Linked DNA regions of Homo sapiens: regions 1, 2, 4, 5 and 6 are each linked to region 3. The links are contacts of gene promoters, found by promoter capture Hi-C in blood cells and fetal thymus (Javierre and others, 2016). All regions are on one chromosome and are shown on one strand. The core of a region is centred on a gene start or on the middle of the fragment in contact, and the rest is flanking DNA. Distances in the headings are between cores, read along the strand shown.

Region 1 (3,832 bases), core at 874-3,373, 300 kb after region 3:
CCTTCCTAGATAATTCCACATGGTTCTGTTTTTCCTATTGTCTTGACATTGTGTAAGAATTTGAAAAAGAATGTTGCAATCTGTTTCTCTGAACTGTGGTTTATCAAGAGGATCTGTTTTAAGCCAAAGAGAGTTTCCTTGTATGGGATCATGCTAGGAGGTTGTGCGCGCCTTGCAGGCAAATGGAGGACTGCAGCCTCATGGAATTGTGCTGCTGTGGGGGCTGTAGGCTCCTGGCCCTCTTGGAGGGTGGATACTCCATGCCTTGTATCATATAGCTTTTAGCTGCCAGCATCTGCTAGGCTTTGGAATACCCAACTCTGATTTTCTGGGAGGCTTTTATGGTATTACGGCACTGTTTCTCAAATAGGGTTGATCATAAGACCCACTTTGGTTGCTTGTAAAAATGTTAAATCTCAGGCCTTACTCTAGAAAGAAACTGCAGGAGAGGGGCCTAGAATGTCTGTTTTTTGTTTTTGTTTTTGTTTTTGTCAAGTACCTTAGACAAGTCTTATGATCAGGCAAATTGAAGCACTTTCATATACTGGCTTAAAATAACTGGCTGCAGTAACTTATACTTAACTGGCCATGTGAATCTTTTTTCTTTTTCTTTTTTTTTTTTGAGAACGGTCTCACTCTTGTCACCCAGGCTGGAGTGCAGTGGTGCTCACTGCAACCTCTACTTTCCAGGCTCAAGCAATCCTCCCACCTCAGCCTCCCAAGTAGCTGGAACTATAGGTGCATGACACCACACTTGGCTAATTTTTATAGCAACAAGGTCTCACTATATTGCCCAGGCTGGTCTCAAACCCTTGGGTTCAAGTGACCCTCCTGCTTTGGCTGCCAAAGTGTTAGGATTTCAGGTGTGAACCACTGTGCCCAGCCCCATGTGAGTCTTAAGCAACTTAAATCCCCTCTCTAATTTAGTTTCCTCAACTGAAAAATGGGGATAATTATAGTACCTACCTATTGTTAGGATTTTAGAGAGGATTAAAGTAAATGATAATGTATGTTAAATACTTAGCAAAGCACCTGGGACAGAGTAAGCACTCAATAAATGTCAGCTATATAGTGAACTCTTCTCCCCTATTATTATATCAGCAATCTTGCCTTCTAGAGGATGTTTATATACATCCCTAGTTCACTTTACTCAGCAGGAAATCTTTCCTGTCTAGTTTGAAAAGATTCTTTGAGGATCCCCTGGGAGATCACAGTATTTTAGAATTGGAAAGGACTTAGATGCCTTATAATCCGGTACCCCAATTTTGTTTGCTCATTTTTGGTCTACTCCCTCTTCATTTTCAGTTAACTTCCAATTCATGTGTAGTTGAAGCTTGTCCTTCAAGGACAATCACCCTTCTACCAGCTACCTAGACTGGGAACATGGATAACCTTCCAGACAGAGCCCTCTCATGCCCAGAAAAGGCCCTGCTCTGCTGTTCCTTTGATGGTTAGAAGGTTTGCCCTTCCGGCAAACATAGCCGCTTTGCCTCCCTTGCCCAAAGAGAAGTTCTATGAATGCTTGTCCTGAATTTTAAAAACCAGCATGTTTTCCTCACTATTAGCCATCTAAGAGTTAGTCTTACTAAGTTTTTGTTATGTTTGTCTAGTTCTCTGTCTACTTAGATAAACCTGAATCAGTGTTATCTTTATTAGACCATGTATTCTTGAAAGTCAAAGATTTCCATTTTTTCCATTGCCTTCTGGAAAAATTCTGTCTAATTACATAATAAAGGCACAAAAACATGATGCCGATGCTGATCATAAATACTCAGACTATTATAATGTCTTTGTCTCAGTAAAATTCTTTTGGTCCTGTGATTCCATCTCATTTTAAGGACAATTTAATGCACGATTAATCTTTGTCCCCTGCATTTCTCCAATTTTAAGAACCACTTCTTTGTGTGTGCTAATTTGTCAAGCAAAACTTTAACAAACACCTCCTGGAAATTTAGAATAGAGAATTTTGAGGCATTCATTTGATTTTCTTGGCATTTACTTCCTTAAAGAAGTCAAAAAATTATTGAAGCATGACTTTTTCATTCCAGAGACTGCATTGGCTATCCTTAATCAAGCTGTGCTTTTCTCAGTGTTCCCCATTTAATCTCCTAAAATACTTCCTAAGACTTTGCCCCCTACAATGGAATCAAAACTAAATGGTCTGTAATTTCCTCAAGTGTTCCCAGATCCTGTTGTAAATAATGACATTGTGCTGGCCACTTTCCAGTCTGAATGAAGTGACCTTGTAAAAATGTCTGCTTACTCTTCTATAACGTCTTTTTCTACTTTCTGTAGGGCTCTTGCATACAGCTTGGCAAACAATACCTATTCCAAGAAACACCATTCTTCACCTCAGTCGTGTTATTTGCTTCATATAGGCAGTACCGTATCCAGAGCTAAAAGACTTATGCTTAAAAGTTAATTAGTATTTTAAAATAAGGAATTATAGGTACACTGTGGTAGGAGGCCAGCCTGTATGACCTATGAATATTTGAATTGACAGGAAGAAAATCTATTGTGGTTTGTAAACTCTTCAAAAAAATGTTGAACTTCCATTCAATCATTAGATAGCTTTTATTGTATTCATGTTCAATATCTTTTTTTAATAAAAAAGAAAACATTTCCTACTTTATAACACAAAACATTTAAAATTAGTTATTCCAAGCTGGCAGTTAGAAAAGAAGTATTTCACCCTCTTGGTAGAGACAGTTGTTCTTTCTGAGCAATTACATTGTATTCAAATGAGAAATATGTGATTTCTGGTTATACCAATGCTTTCCCCCTCTTCACCCCAAAGAGGATCAGGACATCTGGCATTGCCTAGGAAAAAGCAGCTAAACTCACTGAAGGGGCAGGGTACTTCTCACATGAAGACAGACTAAAAATACAAAAACCTATTAGTGTGAAATAACAAAAGCTTACAGGGGAGAAATAACTAGGACCTCTGAATCCTAAGCTATGTGGGACCACCGGCTAGACAAGCTAATTAAACTTTGCAACCCCCATTTGTTATGGCCCACATGGGCATATGAGTTTTATGAATTAGATACAAGTTACTGCAACTAAAAGAAGTTAAATAGATGGAGATATTGGTAGTGTTCAACCCAATGACAGTGATTTTATTATTTTCTTTAAGAAAAACCAAAGGGTAATAAATTTATGGGAGCATTTTGGACTTGATAAATCAAATCAAAATTTAAAAACATTCTTGGAAGTTATAAAGCTAACAAATAGACCAGCAAAATTTTTTCTTCGTAAAATAAGAGCAAAATAACTATTTAAAAAATGACTGTTTCTGATTTTTGGCAAAGTGATTACCTTTGCTTGTGCTTTCATAAGTATAAACATTACATGCATTTGTGGGGGCCAGTGTGTACTCTTTTACCTTCCCTTGGCATTGCTCATCTCTATCAAACACCTACAACACAGTGTGCTCCATTATAGGAGACTGGCAGCACGGTTCTATTTAATTAACTAATTGGATGACTCATCCTACACCTAAATTAGCATTATTAGGTCTTTTATAATGATTGTTGAAGCATTGTAAATTAATTTTCTTACTGGCTATAACCATTATTTGCTGCTATCACAATATTAAGAGATAATCCATGCACAGTGGGAAATCTCTATGGGCAGAAAATGAATGTGGTCATCCTTGGATCACCAATTAGGAAACCTATTGTGTGGCAAAAACATGATTTCTATGCTGTAATATGATCAAATAACCATTAATTACCTTCACTAGTAAGAATTACCTTCTTTGTTGGAGAAGTATTGCATTACATATTATAGTTCAAAAATGTCAGGAGAAACCAGCAACAAAAACATCAAT
Region 2 (4,006 bases), core at 699-3,198, 470 kb after region 3:
TTTAAGGCAAACAAAACAGATTTAGGAAACACTTGAATTCACAGAAAGAATAATTGGGCAAAAAAGTCCCATAATTCAGAGGAGTTTGGTTTCCTGTAATCACAACTGTGCACTGATGAATCAACTCCTACATAATTAATTTTTTCTTATTTAAAAAATTACAATAAAAAAAGTCAAAAGGTGTCAACAGAAGGCAAAAATCATCTATGATATTACCACTCAAATTCGATTATTGATGGCATTTGGGAATAATTCTTTTAGTCTTTTATTCTTACATATATTTTTGCCTGATAATAATTATTATTTATACAAAGTTTTATATCTTTTTTTTAAATTTTATATTAAATTCTAAGTATTTCACAGTTATACCATGATCTTAAAAACAATTATATAAAATTTTATAAAGTAGATGAACATGTTTATTTAATTGATCCTTTCTGATAGTATTTTACCATTGCCCTCAATTTTACTATTATAAATAATACTGCAATAGACATGTCCATACATACAGATTTTTTGTTTTATTTTTTGTTTTTATAATTATTTCCTTAGGATAGATTCTTAGAAGTAGGATTACAGTATTTAAAAGATTGGAATATTTTATGGATCTTAATGTGTATTTATAGATTGCTTTCCAAAACACCATATCAATTTATATTTGCTGTTAACAAAGCATGTTTCATAATACTTTGGCAATTCCTGGATATTATTATTTCCAAAGTTTTTTAATACAAGCAATTAAAATGGTACTTTGTTTGTGTTTCTTTGACTGTTAGTGACCCTGAATATTGTGGTAAGAAGCATGGAAGATGTCCCCCTTTCTGATCCCACTCTCTGAGATTCATTTCCTTGTGCAATCCCCTCCTGAGTGTGGGCTGGACTTACTGTCTTGCCTCTAACAGAGAATATGGCAGATATAATATGGTAGATATCAACCTTTAGAAAAGACTCCTTTCATTTTGGGAAAATAAGAATCAGTCCTTTGGTTAAAAAGAAATGTAAAGTAAGTATCCACCAAGTTTTCTTAGGTAAAATGGAATTTTTTAGAAGTCTGATTGCAGAAGCTGCTTGTCTTTTGTGGATTGTTTCCATGAGAAGTTGGAGCATTATATTTGCTTGTTTTCTAAAAATAACTTTAGAATGGACTGAAATACCTGTAATTCAGATTTTGGGAGCCTGGCTTCAGGCATGGAAGCCATGGAAGCTGACGACACTGCATTCAGCAGACCACAAAGTTTGTTTCAGGTTCACGGATGGGCAAGAACAATAACTTAGACTTGGTTCAAGGTTGATTTTACTTTGATTTACTCCTAAAGCAGCCAATAAGCAGGGCAAAGTTTGTAGACATGATAAAGATGTAGGTAGACAAATATGGCTTTCCTTTGCCTCTCTCACATGGCGGGGGGGCACACTAGAAATTTAGCCCCTCTTGTTAGCGTGCCCAGAGCAAGATGTTGCGCCTAGCTGGAAAAGTGAAGACTTTACACCCCCAACCACACCAGCACACACTACACTCCTCCGCATAGAGTAATAATTCTGCTACATCGTTCATGCATAATGTCCAGGTTCTGGAACGTGAAGTTCTTTCAATGACAACACTTAGAAAAATCCCCTTATCAACCCCTGTCCTACTTTCCAAGTCCACTGGGCAAGTCTGGCCCTAGGCTGCCCCATTCACCGTGTCCTACCCAGTCAGACTTCCCCAACTGACAGCAAGCATCTTAAGATGACTAAAATTAAAAGTCTTTTTCTGGACTCTCTAGGGACACCTATACCTATGTAATGTATATAAGAGTGCTTTTAAGCTGAAAAATATGCTAAAAACATGCTAAAACATGCTTCAGTAAGCATGAAGTAGTGGTGCTATACATAGTTATTTTGATTTATCCAGGTTCTGATGCTGATTTGGATAATTCTCTTCTTTGTATCTTAGCTTCTTCTGAAGGACTAGGAAAAATTATGCTGGATTTTAATAAATATTACATATAATTCTTAAGAGACCTTAAATTATTTTGGAAAATACATTAAAACCAGACTATCGACATTACTTTTTTTTTTTTTTTTGCAGTTGCAAGATTTAATAGAGTGAAATAGAGTGAAAACAGAGCTCCCATACAAAGGGAGGGAACCCAAAGGGGGTTGTCAAATGCCTGGGTTTATATTCCAATCCTTGTTTATATCCCTCCCACTGTGCTCTCGGGCAATAGATCGGCTATTTCTTTACCTCCTGTTTTTGCCTAATTAGCATTTTAGTGAGCTCTCTGATTGGTTGGGTGTGAGCTAAGTTGCAAGCCCCGTGTTTAAAGGTGGATGCGGGCATCTTCCCAGCTAGGCTTAGGGATTCTTAGTTGGCCTAGGAAATCCAGCTAGTCCTGTCTCTCAGTCTCCCCTCTCAACAGGAAAACCCAAGTGCCGTTGGGGAGGTTGGCCGACGACCACTCTAACTGCTCTTGCTGAATTGGGGCATAGTAGGGGTTGCGCAGTTGAGATTTCCTGGGGAGGGGTGCCTTGGATGTCATTAACATCGGAGCATGGGCTAGCAGGCCAGTCCAGGGGTCCGCAGTAGCTCTTAGTCAAAGACTGCATCTGGGCTCCATTTGAAGAATGATTTGTAGTTTTTCAGCTTTGATTCTGGAAGAGACAAATGCTTTGGAGGTCCCTTCATGGTCACCAAAATGTTACCGGAGGGTCCTTGTTCACAGAGCTTCCAAGATGGTGGCAAGCCTCGTGTTCTCTGACCTGGGGTTCTTGGCCTCACGGATTCCAAGGAATGGAATCTTGGGCCATGCGGTGAGTGTTATACCTCTATTAGAAGCCTTGGGTCACGGAAGAGAACCATGGAACCCAGTGACAAGTGTTCAGCTCGATTAGGACGAACCCAGGCACTTAGCTGTGCAGGAACAATGGCAAGCCTTTAGCCTGATCGGGAGCGGCAATGGGTGCCTCGCTGGATCAGGAGCACAGTGGACACCCTGCCGGATCCGGAGGGATAGAAGTCAGCGGCGGTCCGCCACCGCGACAAACAGCAGTGGTGGACAGCAAGCGAAAGCTCAGCTTGAGCCGTAACAAACATGGACCAGCAGAGTGCAGTTGCAAGATTTAATAGAGTGAAATAAAGTGAAAACAGAGCTCCCATACAAAGGGAGGGGACCCAAAGGGGGTTGCCAACATTACTTATTTTGAACTTAAAGTTTTGAGTTTCTCATACATGAGGGTTTACTGCAGTTATTTCCTGTATAATACAATCCAATGGCACAGATCCTTTTTTTTTTTTTTTTTTTGAGACAGTCTCACTGTCACCCAGGCTGGAGTGGAGTGGCAGGATCTCAGCTCACTGCAACCTCCGCCTCCTCGGTTCAAGCGATTCTCCTGCCTCAGCCTCTCAAGTAGCTGGGATTACAGGCACGCGCCACCACGCCCAGCTAATTTTTTGTATTTTTAGTACAGACAGGGTTTCACCATGTTAGCCAGGATGGTCTCAATCTCCTGACCTCATGATCTGCCCACCTCGGCCTCCCAAAGTACTGGGGTTACAGGCGTGAGCCACCACACCCGGCCCAATGGCACAGATTCTAATGGCCTCATCACATCCTAGATTCAGCAGAATTATTACTGGGTTTATTTTTGCAGCCACAAACCCTGCTAGTTCGAGTGAATGACAATCTTTCTTCAAATCATACCCCTAAGTTCAGAAACTCATTTCATTCACTGATCTTCTTATTTGTTTTTTTGTAAGAGCATTTAAATTTAACAAATTGCTGCATGTGATTTATTTTGAATTTAATTACAGAGCCAAAATGCCACATATAATTATGGATGTAAGTAAGCATCAATTCTTTGCCCTGATGGCTTGAGAAAGGCTGTAAAGTGTAGCCTAGCCTTTCTGCATAATCTCCTATGAGCCTTTTCTGCCCGCTATTGAATCAGTGCTGACAAATAAAGTATCAGAATAGCAGCTAATACGAGGTCACGCCTTTGTGCCAAGCCCACTCCTCGCTACTCATTC
Region 3 (3,674 bases), core at 738-3,237:
TTCTGAGATTTACAAGGATATTATTAGGTGGTCAGTGAACTTGAGGGTTTTTTTGCAAGTCAGTGGGACCTAAAAACTTTTCCTTTGGCTGGTCAGAGAAGCAGGCTGAGAAAGGGGGACTCTTACTGAGGGTTTTGTGAATAGCCTAGTAGCAGGTGCACACGAAAACACTAATGGTCAGAATAAAGTCTACACCCCTTAACTGTTCCTCACCAGCAATCATTTTCATTATTTCTGCTCAGTGACCTTTCATTCCCTCCATTTTTCTCTGATAATTAGATTTCTTAAATTAAAAAAGGTAGGGGGAGAAATGATAAGCTCAATAGAAGACAAACAGGAATTGAATGGATGTATGCATTTATTTTTAATATGTTTTAGCAAAACCTGTATGTACCTGCCCCCCCCCCGCAACACATACACATCATTGGGCTTTAGAATCCTTGCTGAGATGTGGGTTTGAGGGAGATAACCACGTGTGGTGAGTTGCAGAGCCTGCCCTCCGCCTGCCACCGTTGCTGTGGGGAGCGCACTCTCTGTCGAGCGCTGCTGTAGCAGACCCACCAAATCCCATGTAAGTGGTCAGAGCACAAATGAGGTTGTCGGTGGGTAGTCCTACCCTATTCATGAGCTCTTTCAGAACAATTTTCATTACTTTTTTTAAATACTGTTTTTGGCAAACACTTGATACTTGAAATAAAAAATGCATGAGTCACCTACTGGGATAGGCACAGTGTGTGGTTCATTGAATTTAGCTAAATTGTGAGTCATCCATCAATAGTCCTCTTGGTGAACATACTTGTAATAATTTCACACATTACAAACAAAAATAGGTATGATTTTCAAGATTCTTGAAGCTGTTTCCCTTGGGGATTCTTTGGATTGTGTTTAGAGTTTTTTGTGTTGCTAGGTGGTGAGAAACTTGTCAGCTTTGTTTTCAGATGGATCCAAGGCTTGTGTCTCTGTCACGTGATAAAAGAACTTTGGTTTGGGAGGCTCAGGGGCAGAGTATGAAGCTGAGCGTCATGAAGTGGGGGGAAACAGGAATTAGCGATTAATATTTGTCCTTGTCAGATCATTGACTTTTAAGATTGATTTTGGCATCTGAAAAATGTTTGGCTCCACTCTCAGGACAGAGTCAGAGCAGTAAGAATATGCACCTGTGTCCCCCACCCCCTTTTTTCTGATAGGAGAGAGCTGAGCAGGGTGGTTATGTGTCTGTGCACTACTGCCCTCTGTTGGATGGCACTAGAATTTCTCTGTATCCACACCCCAGCTGAATGAGCGCTCCTGGTTGGCTGGCAGGTGACCCAGGCAAATATGTCATTATTGGACTAAGACCAATTAAAAAAAAATAGTTGGCCTGTATAAACTAAGAGAGACCTCTCTCTGGTGGAGAAATAAGAGTGTAGACTTTCTGACCTGTAGGGTTCTTCTATTCTGGTGGCTGCCGGGCAAGAGGCTGGCATCTGCTGCTGAATGACAGGACAGACTTTGTGATTAAACTGCTAGATCTTTGGCTTTTCAGGAAGTGAAAATAATCACAAGATAAAGTATCCTTACTTGCATTTTTCCCCTTTCATAAGTGCAATAGGGCATAAAAGGGCTTTGGCTTTTGGCTACAATCAGAGGTGAAAGTTTTTATATGGATATAAGAAGAGAAGTTAAAGCTCTTTGCAAACTATGGCTAAAGTGCCATGTCAGTAAGACGTATACAGTGACCCAGGACACTGGCTGGGAAGTTTTCTTTGTTTTGGCAGATTCCTCTGCCCTCCTTCACCTTCTCCAAGGTAGCGAGAGTAAGTGTCCAGGCATGAGCCTTGGGGATACTGTCCTGCCACTACTGGCTGAGTAACTTGGGAAAGTTGTCTGACTCTTGGGCCACATTTTTTCTTTTGTGTAAAATGAGGCATTTGAAATAGATGCTATCTCAGAGTCGCTTCATTTCTGAGATGCAATAAATTATCTTTTCTTCCTAGATGATAATGTAAGCACAAAGAACAAAACTATTTAAAGACCACACACATACCCTCTCAAACAAATCACCTCCCTTTGGGAAAGCAACATGTTCACTGTGATAATTCAGCATCAGGACCTGAGGTGGTGGGAACAGCTTTGGCTGGTTTGCTGCTCTCCAAGGAGCTCCTGTGCCGGCCGCATTGGACAAGCATCTCTGCCCTGCGGCGCAGAGTCTCCAGGACCAGCAGATGGCGGACTTGCACAGTCCACACATTTTCCAGGTTCTCAAGGTAAATGGTACTGATTAACATCCAGAAATAACACCCACTGATGTTTGAACAAATTGCAGCGTTTTCCAGGCCACTAAAACCATGGCACTTTGTGAGCTGGAACATTTGCTAATATTTAAAATGGTTAGAAAGATTGTTAATCTATAATACTTTCGAGTGTTAACAGCCTCTTTCACCCACGCATCAGAAACCCTTAATAAATTGGCCTTCTTTTTTTTCAGGTGGGGAAATTAGGGCAGAGGGTCAATTGGCTAAGATCACAGCAGAACTAGTCCAAATAATTCAGACTATACACCTTGGTGATCTTTTAGAATTGTCGTTCCTCTTGCCCTTCCTTTCTTTAATGCCCACTTCTCTTGGTTGTGGAGGGGAATGTGTGTGTTGACTGGGGATATGGAAGAGGAATTGACGTCTTCTGCACTTTGGGGCATTGCCACCTGCCATGGTCATCAAAGCTCCTGATCGCCACAACCTGTATTCAGAATACCTGTGATAATAAGAACTGGCATTTATTGATTACTTACTTTGAGCCAGGCATTGTTCTAAGCATTTCTCACACACTAATCATTTAATCCTTCCAGCAGCCCATAAAGGAGGCAGAGAGAGTAAGTAACTTACCTAGAATAACAGATCTTTGTATTTTTCTAGGCTCTAAAAGCAGCAATGACTTCAATCTATTTTTTAGTGGTAATCACTCTTTCACCCCAGATATTTTCCAGCTAACAGATCATTGACTGATTTTTAATATTTAAATTGAGAAATTTATTGGAGCTTTGGTGATAATCATGTAAGTAAGCCCTGGTTATAGTAGCTTGTAATGCTATTATTAGTGTTCAAGATTTCCTTTCACAACCTTGTGCTTAGAAGGAATGATTCACTAGAAATGGAAATAAGATGTAAATGAAATGGGGAAGCTTGGCAATTTAATCACTCAAGTAATACATATTTTCAAAGTGCTCACTTAATCCACTAGTCACAAGGCGGCATTAGAGATGTGTTGGGGGGTTTCACTCCAACAACATTTATTTATTTCAAAAACATACATAGTGGTTACTGCATACCAGGCACAAATATTAGTTCACTTAATTCTCCTCACAACTATGATGAGCCCCTTTTACAGATGAGGAAACCAAGGTTCAGAGAGGTAAGAAACATAGCTAGTAAGTGGCAGATCAAGATTTAAACCAGCCCCTAGCTTCTGATCCATGCTCATAACTACGAGGCTGTGCTACCCCTATCAATAGAAATCAGGTATGCTGGCGGGACGTACAGTAATTTAACCAGAGTCAAAGACAGAAACAAACAGTTATAGTGTTGATTTCCTCCTAACAACAATCCTTATATAGCAAATAATTTCTTTCTTTCCCTCTCTCTCTCTCTTTTTATTTTTTGAGACAGCGTCTCACTCCATCACCTAGGCTAGAGTGC
Region 4 (3,785 bases), core at 403-2,902, 450 kb after region 3:
TCGCAATTTTTGATTCACTCGACAGTATTTATTCAGCTAGGGCTCTGTGCCAGGGACTACGCAAGGCCTGAAAATTCAAACTTAATCTAGATGCAGCTCCTACTCACACGGAACTTACACATTCACAATAAATCACCCAAATAATATGTAGTTACTTTCTGACAGATGTTACTCTAGGATCCAGTGAGATAGAGAGGGTTGTAATGGAGATTCGTGTGTGGGTTTTTGCACCATTTCTTGATCTCTCAGCATTCCAAGGTCGTGAGAGGAGTCCTTGAGTGGAAGTCCGTCCTAGGTTTGAACCCTGGCTTTGCCTTTTTCCAGCTGTGCAGTACCGCTCTTGTGGGCTCCCGCCACACCCTGGAGTCACTCCCATCACAGCCAGAGTAAACCAGTGTGTGTTTTCTGGCTTCCCTCCTTGAGGGTGAGCCCCTGTTTTATCTATCTTTGAACCCCCCAGTGCCTCGAGAAACGCTGAGGAAACACAGCCTCCGAGCACCTGTTTCCTGAGCTGTAAAAAATGGTCACAACCTGCCCTGTGTACTGGCTTGGTTTGTGCTAGGGATCCAAACAATTCAGGATGAGATCATGTGCCTGAGTTTGTAGATCACAAAAGTCGCTAATAGAAGGAGTTATTCCTTCTGATTCTGTATTTTGGATTTAGAGAAACTGTGACTCTAGGCCTCTGACCTTCAACAAGAAACACTTGGGCCCCTCAGTTGCTCCCGCAGTCTCCCACAGCTAGGCACAGGCTTCTAAGCCGGGCTGAGCTGGGCTCGCGAGTGCCATCGAGGCAACCAGGCGCAGGGAGCGGAAGGCAGGAGTGTAACTGGGCGCTGGGGGGCGCTGCTCCGCAACCCCAAGATCCGAGGAATGCCTCCGGGGGATGATTTCTCTGGAGGGGTCTCGCAGGGCCCCCTCTGCGCTGCTTTCTCAGGCACCAGAACCGAAATCCTCGGGAGGGACCGCGGGAGCCCGGGGCGTGCAGACAGGCGGCTTTCACAGACGCAGCGGGAGGAAGGATCCCTCTACTGCTCCCTTTCCCGATTTGACCGTCTAGGGCCTTTGAGAGGACTTTCCTTTTGGGAAAGCTTTTCTCAATTCGTGGCCTGTGGGCAGGCTGGGGGGTGGGGCGCCAAGTCATCCGAGCGCGGCTTCTGCTTCTCCCTTTCCCTCACAGGCATGCTCTACGGAGGGTATGGGAGGCGAGGGCGCGTCTATGAGGGCCAGAGTCCGCGAAGAGAGTCCGGCCCTTAGGCCTTTGGTGTTGAAGAATCTGCTCCTCTGTCGGGTCAAGCCCCACTAGAAGTTAACACCTGTGGTCTCCAAACTTGCCTATTTTCCTGTCACGCAGTTCAAGCCAAGATTCAACTCGTCTTGAATTTTTGTATTTAGAGCCCCTACCTTCTCCACCGACTCCAGGGGCGCCCTCTGGCGGGAAGGGGCCTGGGGTAGGAGGGAACCTGAGGGAGCGGGTTACAAAGCAGAGAACAGCGGGAGCTCAGCAGCTCCCTTTGAATTGCGAGGAAACCAAGACGGAGACGGGAGGTAGGAGCACGGGCCTGAAGCGGTCAGCCGACCCTGTGAGGCCCGCGCTGCCGTGCTACGCCGCGAATCCGCCAGACGCCCCCGTCGGAAGGGGCAGGGACACCCTCGGGGGCGCTCTAGGGTTCGTGCTGCGCTAAGGTAAGTTTCGCAGCTGCTCCTGATAATTAAAGGACAGATTCCCGAAGCATCCTTGTGGCGGCGCGGCTGTTTTCGCCCCAGGACCTGTGCAGCCTCATTCAGCTTTAGGTAGTCGAAACCTATAGCTCTTTCTGCCCTCTGTTCCCCAACAAATCTCAGTCCCAACAGTGGGAGCCCGTGGGCCTTGGGTGTTCGAGTTTCCCGCGGGCTTGCCAGCAGCGCTGGGGTTCCCTCCTCCGCTCCTTTCCTCCTCTCCAACCTCCCACCACAGCCCGTCTCCCCCACATCCCCAACACTTGTCCCAGGCAGTTTCCGGTGGCCGCAGTATCGACCCCAGGCCATTGGGGTGGGTGTGAGGGAAGGGTGGAGGGGGAATCTCCGAGGCCCAATGTTTTCTGGGACTTGAGGGAGGCTGAATTCTCCCTCGCTGCCTAGGACTTGGGGTCTGAAGGTTGCAGACCGAGGCGATCCGCAGCGCCCTCTTCCGGCGGCCGTCTGGAGAACTGCAGCTTTAGAGCGGTCTCGGGGAAGCTTTGCTACTAGTTTCCGGCTAGGGAAAACTGGTGGTGGTCGGAGACTGGTAGTACATCATCCACGCATTCGCTCATTCTAACTGTCCGCCCGACCATACGTCAGGCTGTCTATCGGTCCACCCAAAGCCAATATAAGTTATGATTGACTCTTTGAATCACCCAGTCTCCTTGCACCTGCTATTTGAAAGAGCCCAGGTGTAGATCAGGGCTTGGAAGCTGCTCTTGTACCTAAAACCCTCTTTTAATTATGCTTTGCTTCGGAATTTTGTTATGCGAATGTCCTGTCCAAGTCAGAGGGCATTTGGAGGCATATTTGGTGACCAATGGAGTAGCTTGCACTTTCTGCATGTCCTTTCTGGAGGAGGCAGTGGCCCTATTAGCTTGACAGCCTGACACAAGGGGGTTCTGCCTTGTGTTGCAGCAGTAGGAGCATAACCTTTAGAAAATATTGGAGTAGGAAAACTTCTGGGACTAGCTACACTCGATGGGTGCCTTCCAGCTCTCCAATCTACGGTACCAACTCACTCAGGCAGGCTTTCCCCCAAATTATTCCCCCTTCTTTGGACTCTGGTCAAAACCAGATCCTCTCCACCCTCCCAAACCCATCCCAGCCAATATGCCCATGTTACTCTGCTATTCTTTTTCACTTAGCCAGAAAAATCATTCTTTCCAGCCCCACAACTAAGTCATATCCTTCTCTTTAAAAATCCAATTGCCTCTTCTGACAACTAAATGCCTGACACATAGTGGGAGCTCAATATATGTGTGCAGAATAAATGGATGAATCTCTATTACACTTTTCTGTTACATTGATAAGCAATTTCTTAATTGAGTGATTTCCTAATTGCCATGTGTTTGTGTTCTTTTTAGGCAGACCGTAAGCTCCTTATTTTCTGTTTTTTGTTGTTTTGTTTTTTCCCCCCAAGACAGGGTCTCTCTCTGTTGCCCAGGCCAGAGTATAGCGGTGTAATCATAGCTCACTGCCACCTCAAACTCCTAGGCTCAAGCAATCCTCCCTGCTCGGTCTCCCAAAGTGCTGGAATTACGGGCATGAGCCATCGTGCCCGTCCAGCTCCTTGATTTTAACAGCCATCTCAAAAACACTTAGACATGTTCCTAGAAATGTGCCCAGTGCTCTGAGGCATTTGATAATGTTAATCACCCCTTTCTAAAATTCTCTCATTGGCTGCAGAGTCACCACTCTATCATGGTTCTCTTCCTCCATCTCTGGACATTTCTTCTCAGAGACTAGGGTTGAATTCCCATCCTGCACTGTATACCCATCCCCGTGGCTTCAGCTGCCACCTGTTGCTGATGGCTCCTAAATCCATACCTCTAGCCAACCTCTCTTCAGAGCTTCCAATCTATATTTTCAGTTGTTTACCTCCTTATGTGAATTTCTGCCAAACAACATATCCAAATCTGAACTTACACTGTCCCAATTTGCTTCTTGTCCTGTGTTCTTGATCTAGGTGAATGGCATGAACATCTCCCAATTCCTGCCACCCCACTCCTTCACCAAGCTCCTGTGCTAGTCAGTTCTGTCTGCCATAACAAAACACCACA
Region 5 (4,082 bases), core at 1,326-3,825, 490 kb after region 3:
TCATTTACATGCATTTTAGATATGTTTCCTGAAAGACCGCCATGGGCCGTGCACTGTACTAGGTGCTGCAAATACAGAGGTGAACACGACTTATATGGGCGCTGTCCTCACAGCAACTGACAGAAGTAAATAGGCAATTAGAGAAGTGTGGTTAGAGCCATGATGGGGAAGCAGAGTGCTGTGTGAAGATTCAGTGGGTCCCTTGAGCCGGCCTGGATTGGAGGACGGTCAAGAAAAACCTCTCTGAGGACAATATGCTTGAGTCAATTTCTGAAGGATTCTTCGAAGTTAGAACAAAAGGGAACAAGTATGAAGAAAGAAAAAGGAGATCGATGTTTTTAAAGAACTGGGGAAATTCAGTATAGCTGATTACATTGTGTGTTTGGTGGGGGACAGGATTTGGTGCATGTAGGGCACTGAGGGGGAGTGACTTATGGCAAGAAATGAGACTAAATATTAGCTGAATCCCATGTTAGGAAGTTTCAACTTGATTCTATGAATAATGGGTAGCCACTGCAGAGTGTAAGTGGATGAGCAATATGATCAGGCATACATTATAAACATTACCATGATTACAGTGTGAAGAGGAAAAGTAAAACCAGCAGCAAGAAGACTGTAGAGATCCAGCTGTGAGAAGACAGCGGCCCATTCACTACAGTGGCTCTGGGTTCTGGCCTCTGGACTCATGACTGGACCAAGCCCTCCAGGAATCACTTTGTCTCCCCTCTCTCATTCCCTGATGAAGACAAGTCTCTGTGAGGTTGGTCAGTTTGTTATAGTTGTGTATCAGTCATGTTTTTTTTTCTGCATTTTATGATGCTTTGACAACTTGGGACCTGCCCCTCCCAGGGTTAATTAATTTCTGAGATAGCAAACAACTTGCCTGTGAGCATGCCTTTCGTATGCAAACTAACTAGTCCAGAACTCTTACTTCAAACCATCTCTAGCTGGTTTTTACACTTCAGAAGGCAATATTCCTCTGCTCTAATCATTCCAGGGCCATGCAGTGGACAACTGAGGACCACCCCAATAGCCCAGAGCCCATAGAAATTATTCAAACCATCCAATCCTACCCCTGCTTTGCTCCTTACCCTTTCTCTCCCATCCTTTCCCATGACAACCACAATCAAGGCTTCTGCCCGTGCTTTCCCTTTTCTCTTTCTGCCTCTCCTCTGACCCACATTTCGAAATCTATGTGTCCCTGTGTGGTACTGCAAGCTCCCTCCTCCTGAGAACTGTGAGAAACAGACTACCTTTTCAGTGGCAACTGTCTCCTCATGTGTTGGCCTCACCATACCTGAATAAAAACAATATCCCAGGTGCATTTCCAAACAAGTGCATTTCACTTAGGTAAGCTCCACGCTGTCTATGAAACTTTTAAGAATTCATGACTAATTTTATTTAAAGTGCTAAACAGTACTCAATGGTCTTGAAGTGTCCAAAATGAAAAATAAAATAAAATAAAAATAAAGTGCTAAATAGGTTTACTCAGTGCTCTTACATGTCATTCTACTTCTGCCATCTGTATAGTTTTATGAGTTCTGAAGGAGAGTTAACTGTCTTTTGTGAATCTTAAATACAGGCAATATTAGATTTAGCAATCTGGAGATCATTGGTGGCCTTCATGCAAAGAGTTTCAGCAGAATGGTGGGGCAAAATCTAACCGAGGGACTTCTCCTTTGACCAAGGAGAATTAGCAGTAATAGGAATCACTCTTCAATTATAAACAACTCGAAAGCTTGATGAAAATAGATGAAATAATCATTTTCAGATGTTGGACAATAGGCAGCATAGGACTGATCACTGAGAGAAGGGAAAAAAAGAGATGCACTTTAGGATGTCCTAGCTTACTACTGAGAGCCAGTGTTTAGCCACAGCGCAGGCAGGAGAACATAAAGAACCTGACATGCCTGCTGAGCTAAAGAGATCAAGATCAGGTCTGAGGATACCAAAATGGCTAGAACTTATAAGGCAGAGTACCAAAAAAGAGTGTTGCACAGAGAAAAATCTCTGAAGATCTGAAGAGGAGTCCCTTTGAGACTTTGGCTGAGTATTAATCTGAACATACATAAGAGAAAACACCCCCTGGCTGGGAAAAGGCTTCCCAGAACAATTCTGAAGATCACACAGAATTGGAAGGCATTCATGTTCCCACTAACCAAAATAAAGAGACTCCATACAATAGTTAGCACCCCCAGAAGGCTCATGCCTAGTGAGGGAACTCAATTAGTCCCAAAATAAAGGTTTCTCTGGACCCATTCTAAAAAAAAAACTTAAAATCCAACCTTAAATGATACTGAAGTACCTTAACTGGATGCCAGGAAAAACAAAACCACAACAACAACAAAAAACCTCTACAATCTTTAAAGGAATACATTAAAGCCAGTAGCAAAGAAAGCAAAATTTACAATTTTGTATCCAATTAAAAATTACCAGGTCTTAAAAGATGCAGAAAAATATTACCCATAACCAGAATAAAAAGCAATTAACAGAAACAGACCCAGAAAAGCCATACATCATGGAATTCATAGACAAGAACCTTAAAACAAGTACCACAATCTTATAAATATGGTCAAGATGTAAAGGGAAACATAAACTTGATGAGGAGAAAAATGGAAGATTTAAAAAGAGCCAAATAAAACTTCTAGAGGTAAAACATGCCATACCAGGAAAGAAAACTGAACTTGAAGACACTGCTATAGAAACTAACCAACATGAAGCACAAAGAGAAAATGATACTGAAAAAAAAATGGCACAAGATCTTAGTGAGTTGTGGGACTAATCAAAGTGTCTCATATTCATTTAACTGGAGTCCTAGCAGGAGAGAAGACTTGGGGAAGAGAAGTGGACATAAAATGTAATTGAAGAAATAATGGCCCCCAAAATCCAAATTTGTTGAAATTAAAAAAAACATAGATCCAAAAACCCCAAGCGGAATAAATATAAACTAAACCTCTTTAGGCACTTCATAATCAAGTTATTGAAATCCATTAATAATGAGAAAACATTTTAAAGCAGTCAGGGGAAAGAGATACACCACATAAAGAGAAACAAAGATAAAAAATGACAGCTGACTTACCAGAAACCACACAGGTCAGAAGACAACAGAACGTCTTTAAAGTGCTGACAGAAAAATAAAATAAAATAAATTGTTGGCCCAGAATAGTACACCCATGAAAATATATCTTTCAAAAATCAAGGTGAAAGAAAACCATTTTAAGATCAACAAGAGGGGAGGAGTTGCTATTCGACAATTATAAAATTTCAGTTCTGTAAGTTGGTTAAGTTCTATAAAACTATTGTCCAATCTGTAGTTAATGATACTGTATTGTACACTTAAAAGTTTGTTAAGAGGGTAGCTCTTACGTTAAGTGTTCTTACCACAATTTTTTAAAAAAGAACAACGATAACAAAAGCTTAGAAAGTTAATTGCCAGTAGCCCTATACAACAAGAAATAAAGGATTCCTGGATCTACACAAAGAAATAAGTGCCAGAAATGGTAAACATGTGAATACATATAAAAGTTTTTTCTGATTTAGAAAATGTTTTTAAAAGGTAATCGACTATAAGCAAAACTAACAACTCTGTATTATAAGGTTTACAGCATACACAGAAGCAAAATATCTGAGAACAATAGCACAAAGGAATGAGGGGGAATTTGGAAGGATGCCTTTGTAAGGTTCTTAAACTATACATGAAATGGTATAATATTTTTTGAAAGTAGACTGTGATAAGTTAAAGATGTATACTGTACACCCTAGAGCAGCTATTAATTTTTTGAAAAACAAAACAAGTATAGCTAGTAAACCAAATGTGCAGATAAAATCATTAGGGAAATGCAAATCAAAATCACAATGACGGACTGAGCATGGTGGCTCATGCCTATAATCCCAGCATTGTGGAAAGCCAAGGCAGGGGGAATCACTTGAGGCCAGGAGTTTGAGACCAGCCTGGGCGACACAGTGCCTCGTCTCTACAAAAGATTTTAAAATTAGCCAGGCATCGTGGCATGTACCTGTATTCTAGCTACTCAGGAGGCTGAGGTGGGAGGATCAATTGAGCCCAGGAATTTAAGGCTGCA
Region 6 (3,930 bases), core at 333-2,832, 310 kb after region 3:
TTTTAAATTCTATTTTATGATCAGCATCCTAGGACCATTCTTGGTGCCAGCTGTCTTAGATCAAGTTTCAGGAAATAGACTCTGAGACAAATAGTTGCTTGCAGGATGTTTATTGGAGAAATTATTGAAACAACACCTGTTAGAAAGTAAGGGAAGCAGGATCGGGCAGAGGGAGAAGCTGAACTCCAATGTGCTTGCAATAGAGACATCAGCCAATCCCATAAAAAATGCTGGTGCTGGGACGGCACTTCTGAGTTATCCCAAACTGAGCCAAGGGGGCCATGTTTTTGTACCTCTGCACTAGATGTGGACTGGCCCTGGGGAGGGAGTGTGACATTGGGCAAGACAGCTTCCTTTGGCTAAATCAGGGTTTCTCCACAAAATACTATTGACATTTTGGACCAGACAGTTCTTTCTTGGAGGAAGGAGGCTGTCCTGTGCATTATAGGACATATATCAGCATCTCAGCCTCCACCTACTACATTTCAGTAGCATTCCCCCTTGATAATCAAAATATCTCCAGATATCGCCCCGTGTGTGTGTGTGTGTGTGTGTGTGTGTGTGTGTGTGTGTTTCCTTGCCAAGTGAGGACACATAAAGAAGTGTCCCTCTGCAAGTTAGGAAGAGGGCCCTCACCAGAATCAGCCACCACCTTGATCTTGGACTTCGCAGTCTTCAGAATTGTGAGGCATACATTTCTGTTGTTTAAGCCACCCAGGCTGTGGTATTTTTGTTGTAGCAGCCCAAATTGACTAAGGCAGACCTTCATCATTTTTCACCTTGATAATTGAAATAGCTGACACTCTCTACAGCTTCAGGAGACCACTCCCCATACATCTTCCTTATGTTCTCAGAGTATCTTTCATAAATGCAGGCATGAGCATGTCACTGCTGAACTAAACACCTCTCACCTGAAGTAACATTTTCCAAAGTGGGGTCTGCATCTAGTATGCTTTTCAAAAATGCTGATTCCAAGGCCTAACTCATCAGGCTCAAAGTCTCTGGGTGTATGGCACTTAAAAATTACAGTTAGACAACCTAAATTCCTTTTTATTCTAAGTGCAAACTCCTTTTCATGGCACAGGGTGCCCTTCAGAAACTGAAATCTCAGCCTATCTTCTTGACTTCATCTCCACCATTGACTCTCCTGTTTGTACTAAAAGCTGCGCCCAGCTGAACTACTTGTGTTTTGTTGAAACATGCCACGCATGTCCCAATATCTGTACCTCTTCACACATTTCTGCCTTCTTTTCCTCTAACTGCTAAAATTCCTGTGTGTTTTAAAACTCAGCTTCTCCTTGAAGCCTTCCATGATTATGTTCTTCACCAGTGTCTTCCTTTCCTTGGGGCTTCCATAGCACTCACCCTGTTATTCTGCATGTTATTCTGTTCCGGCCCTCACCCCTGGGCTATTCCCCTGTAGATAGCTGCCTCTCTCCTGGAATGGCGGCCTTCTGAGAGCACAGCCTGGGTCTTTATTCTAGCACGTTAGTCACTCAATAAACACTGACTGAGGGAATGAATGAGCATTGTGATACTCACTCTGGGTCAGTACTGCCTAATCGAAGTATAATGTGAAACACTTATGTAATTTTAGATTTTCTGGCAGCCACAATAAAAAGAGAAAGAGAAACAAGTGAAATTAATTCTAATCATGTTTTTATTTAACCCAATCTATCCAAAATATTATCATTACAACACGCAACTCATACAAAAAAGTATTGATATATTTTACATTATCTTTTCCTACTAAGTCTTTAGAATTCTAGTATGCTTTCATACTGAACACATTTCAAACCAGACTGGCCATAATTCACATGCTCAGTAGCCACATGTGGCTAGCGAGTACCATACTGGAATCACTAAACAGCATGATTCTATACTAGAGAGAATGCTATTGAGATATATGTGAGAGCTTTTGCCTATAAAGTAAGCAGTAGTCTAGTCCAGGGTTCATACTTGGTGGTTACATGGCACTTGAGTGGTTTTTACCAAGACCATGTTAACCTTGGTCTCCTTTGTGTGCTGCATGTAGATGCGAGAGCAGGTCTGACTGAGAGAGTCCTGCGTGTGAGCTATGCACGGCCTACAGAAAGTCAGCAGGACTGTCAGCAGCTAACAAACCTACTTCTCAACCAGGCAGTTGGAGCTGAAATGCACAAACAAACTACCTCTTTAGGGAACATTAAAGGCATTAAATGAGAATGCGACATTCTTTGGCACGCAAAGCCGCACCCTTCAAAGCCATCATCACTGAGGTTCTACTTAGCGAAAGAAAAAGCCACAGAAATGTAAATACAGATCATTTGTAGATGCCTTGGTAGAGGTGTATCCATGCCCTCTAGGGACATCATTCCATCTAAGGGAGGAGATAAAGAACATTTCTTAAGCAGGAAACTTAGAACCATTTCAAGATGTGAACTGTTTGTCTTGCTCAGGCCTGTCTGCTGGCTCCATCTAACTCAGACAGCAGTGAGTGTTTGCTGGGCCCAACCTCTACTCTCTTGGAGTCAGAACTAAAAAAAGAAAGTGATTCTCCAACTCCCAGCCCCACACTCGGTGACCTCAACTGAGAAGCCTGGTGCCAACTGGCACCAAGCATAGGGTGGAACTGAGAGATGACTTGGCATTCTCAGCCTGGCACCCTCTTGGTGGGCAGGAACCCAAAGCAGCCTTTCCTTCTGCTTCTGCTCCCTTAGAGCAAGAGGCCTCAGTTTCAGTCAAAACAGTCAGATACACAAATTAGCATCAGAACCAAAATGGTTTCCTGGGAAACTAATGACAAAAATTCCAGTTTTAAAACATTTTCTTTGCATCCTAGAGAGAGAAGCCATGTTTTTCACAAGGACAAAAGTCCTGTGCCAAAGAACTCCATCTCATATAAAGAAGTGTCATTGACCAAAGACTCTGGAATAGATGAAAAGTGCTATTTGAGGCTTTCAGCACATGCTTTATGTATTTTTCTATACCTTGTTCCCATATAATCCTGACCCATTCACTCATGCCTGTTTTTACAGAAGTGACACATTTCCTCATTAATTTCTTTTCCCAGCTGTCCTTTGTCCTATAAGAAGTTGAGCTTTTTAGCATGAAGCAGCTGGAGAACAAGTCAGAGATTTTTAAAAATTATTGGTAGAGAAGACTTAGAATATCATACCTCTACCCATCAAAACCTATCCCTTGGAAATTATCTAAGAAAATAATTCGCATTCCAATGATAATAATATACATTTGTAGAGTGGTTCATAGTTTACAAAATGCCTTCACATATATTTCCTCAATTCAACTTCTCAATAGTTTGAGTAGAAATACAAGGTCTAATCTTTATGTTCTGTCTCCTAGGAGCATTCATTCAACTGACAAACACATACTGAGAGCCTTCTCTGTGCCTGGCCTTGAGAAATGCACTGGGGAACAGAGCCATCTGACATCCTCCCTTCTGGGATGAGCTGAGTCTTGGGAAAATAGAAAGCAATTAAAATTCATTAAAATTCAGAGGTATATACAACATGCTGCAGGAACAAATAAGAAGGGCCCTCAATGCAGCATTTTAATATTGAGTAATCTCTTAATCTGAAGAAATTAAACTCCTTAAGGATGGAATTTCTGGTATCCTAAAAAACCAATAAGGGAGGTATTGGCAGGGAAGCCTTCCCAAGGCCCTCTAAATCACACAACACTGGCAGTGTCTTACCTGAGGGTATAACAATGGTATGTGTATAATATGTGCATCAGGCACACCCCCTTTTATTGTGCTTCACTTTATTGCATGTCACAGATATTGTGGTTTTTACAAATTGAAGGTTGTGGCAACCTTGCATCCAGAAAGTCTACTGGTGCCATTTTTCTAGTAGCATGTGCTCACTTCCAGTCTCTGTGTCCACTTTGGTAATTCTGTTAATATGTCAAACTTTTTCATTATTACATCTG

What was found. The method cuts DNA at HindIII sites, captures the fragments that hold promoters and counts their contacts. A CHiCAGO score of 5 or more calls a contact.
Region 1: a contact is called between a fragment that was not itself captured here and the fragment with the promoter of LINC00609 in region 3, in 2 of 17 cell types (endothelial precursors and megakaryocytes). The highest score is 5.6, in endothelial precursors.
Region 2: a fragment that was not itself captured here is called in contact with the fragment with the promoter of LINC00609 in region 3 in 1 of 17 cell types (M2 macrophages); the score reaches 5.0 in M2 macrophages.
Region 4: a fragment that was not itself captured here is called in contact with the fragment with the promoter of LINC00609 in region 3 in 1 of 17 cell types (endothelial precursors); the score reaches 5.2 in endothelial precursors.
Region 5: a fragment that was not itself captured here is called in contact with the fragment with the promoter of LINC00609 in region 3 in 4 of 17 cell types (M1 macrophages, M2 macrophages, M0 macrophages and 1 more); the score reaches 9.9 in M1 macrophages.
Region 6: a contact is called between a fragment that was not itself captured here and the fragment with the promoter of LINC00609 in region 3, in 1 of 17 cell types (M2 macrophages). The highest score is 5.3, in M2 macrophages.

What each region holds. Positions count from the first base shown.
Region 1 is chr14:36,363,780-36,367,611 of GRCh38, forward strand. No RefSeq gene overlaps it. Among named protein-coding and RNA genes, the nearest start is that of MBIP, 45 kb to the left of the region's middle. The HindIII fragment of the contact is 1,584 bases long and covers 1,332-2,915 here.
Region 2 is chr14:36,541,504-36,545,509 of GRCh38, forward strand. All of the region lies in intron 1 of LOC105370453 (a long non-coding RNA gene), which reads left to right. Among named protein-coding and RNA genes, the nearest start is that of NKX2-1, 23 kb to the left of the region's middle. The HindIII fragment of the contact is 8,986 bases long and covers 1-4,006 here.
Region 3 is chr14:36,068,440-36,072,113 of GRCh38, forward strand. LINC00609 (long intergenic non-protein coding RNA 609) reads left to right here and starts at 1,988. Exons shown (of 3, transcript NR_073454.1): 1 at 1,988-2,246. The HindIII fragment of the contact is 3,305 bases long and covers 1-3,158 here.
Region 4 is chr14:36,523,523-36,527,307 of GRCh38, forward strand. LOC105370453 (a long non-coding RNA gene) reads left to right here and starts at 1,167. Exons shown (of 3, transcript XR_001750715.2): 1 at 1,167-1,686. RefSeq lists an enhancer at 1,344-2,282. The HindIII fragment of the contact is 1,126 bases long and covers 1,090-2,215 here.
Region 5 is chr14:36,559,854-36,563,935 of GRCh38, forward strand. LOC105370453 (a long non-coding RNA gene) reads left to right here. Exons shown (of 3, transcript XR_001750715.2): 2 at 579-760. Among named protein-coding and RNA genes, the nearest start is that of NKX2-8, 21 kb to the right of the region's middle. The HindIII fragment of the contact is 1,678 bases long and covers 1,737-3,414 here.
Region 6 is chr14:36,381,726-36,385,655 of GRCh38, forward strand. No RefSeq gene overlaps it. Among named protein-coding and RNA genes, the nearest start is that of MBIP, 63 kb to the left of the region's middle. The HindIII fragment of the contact is 5,190 bases long and covers 1-3,930 here.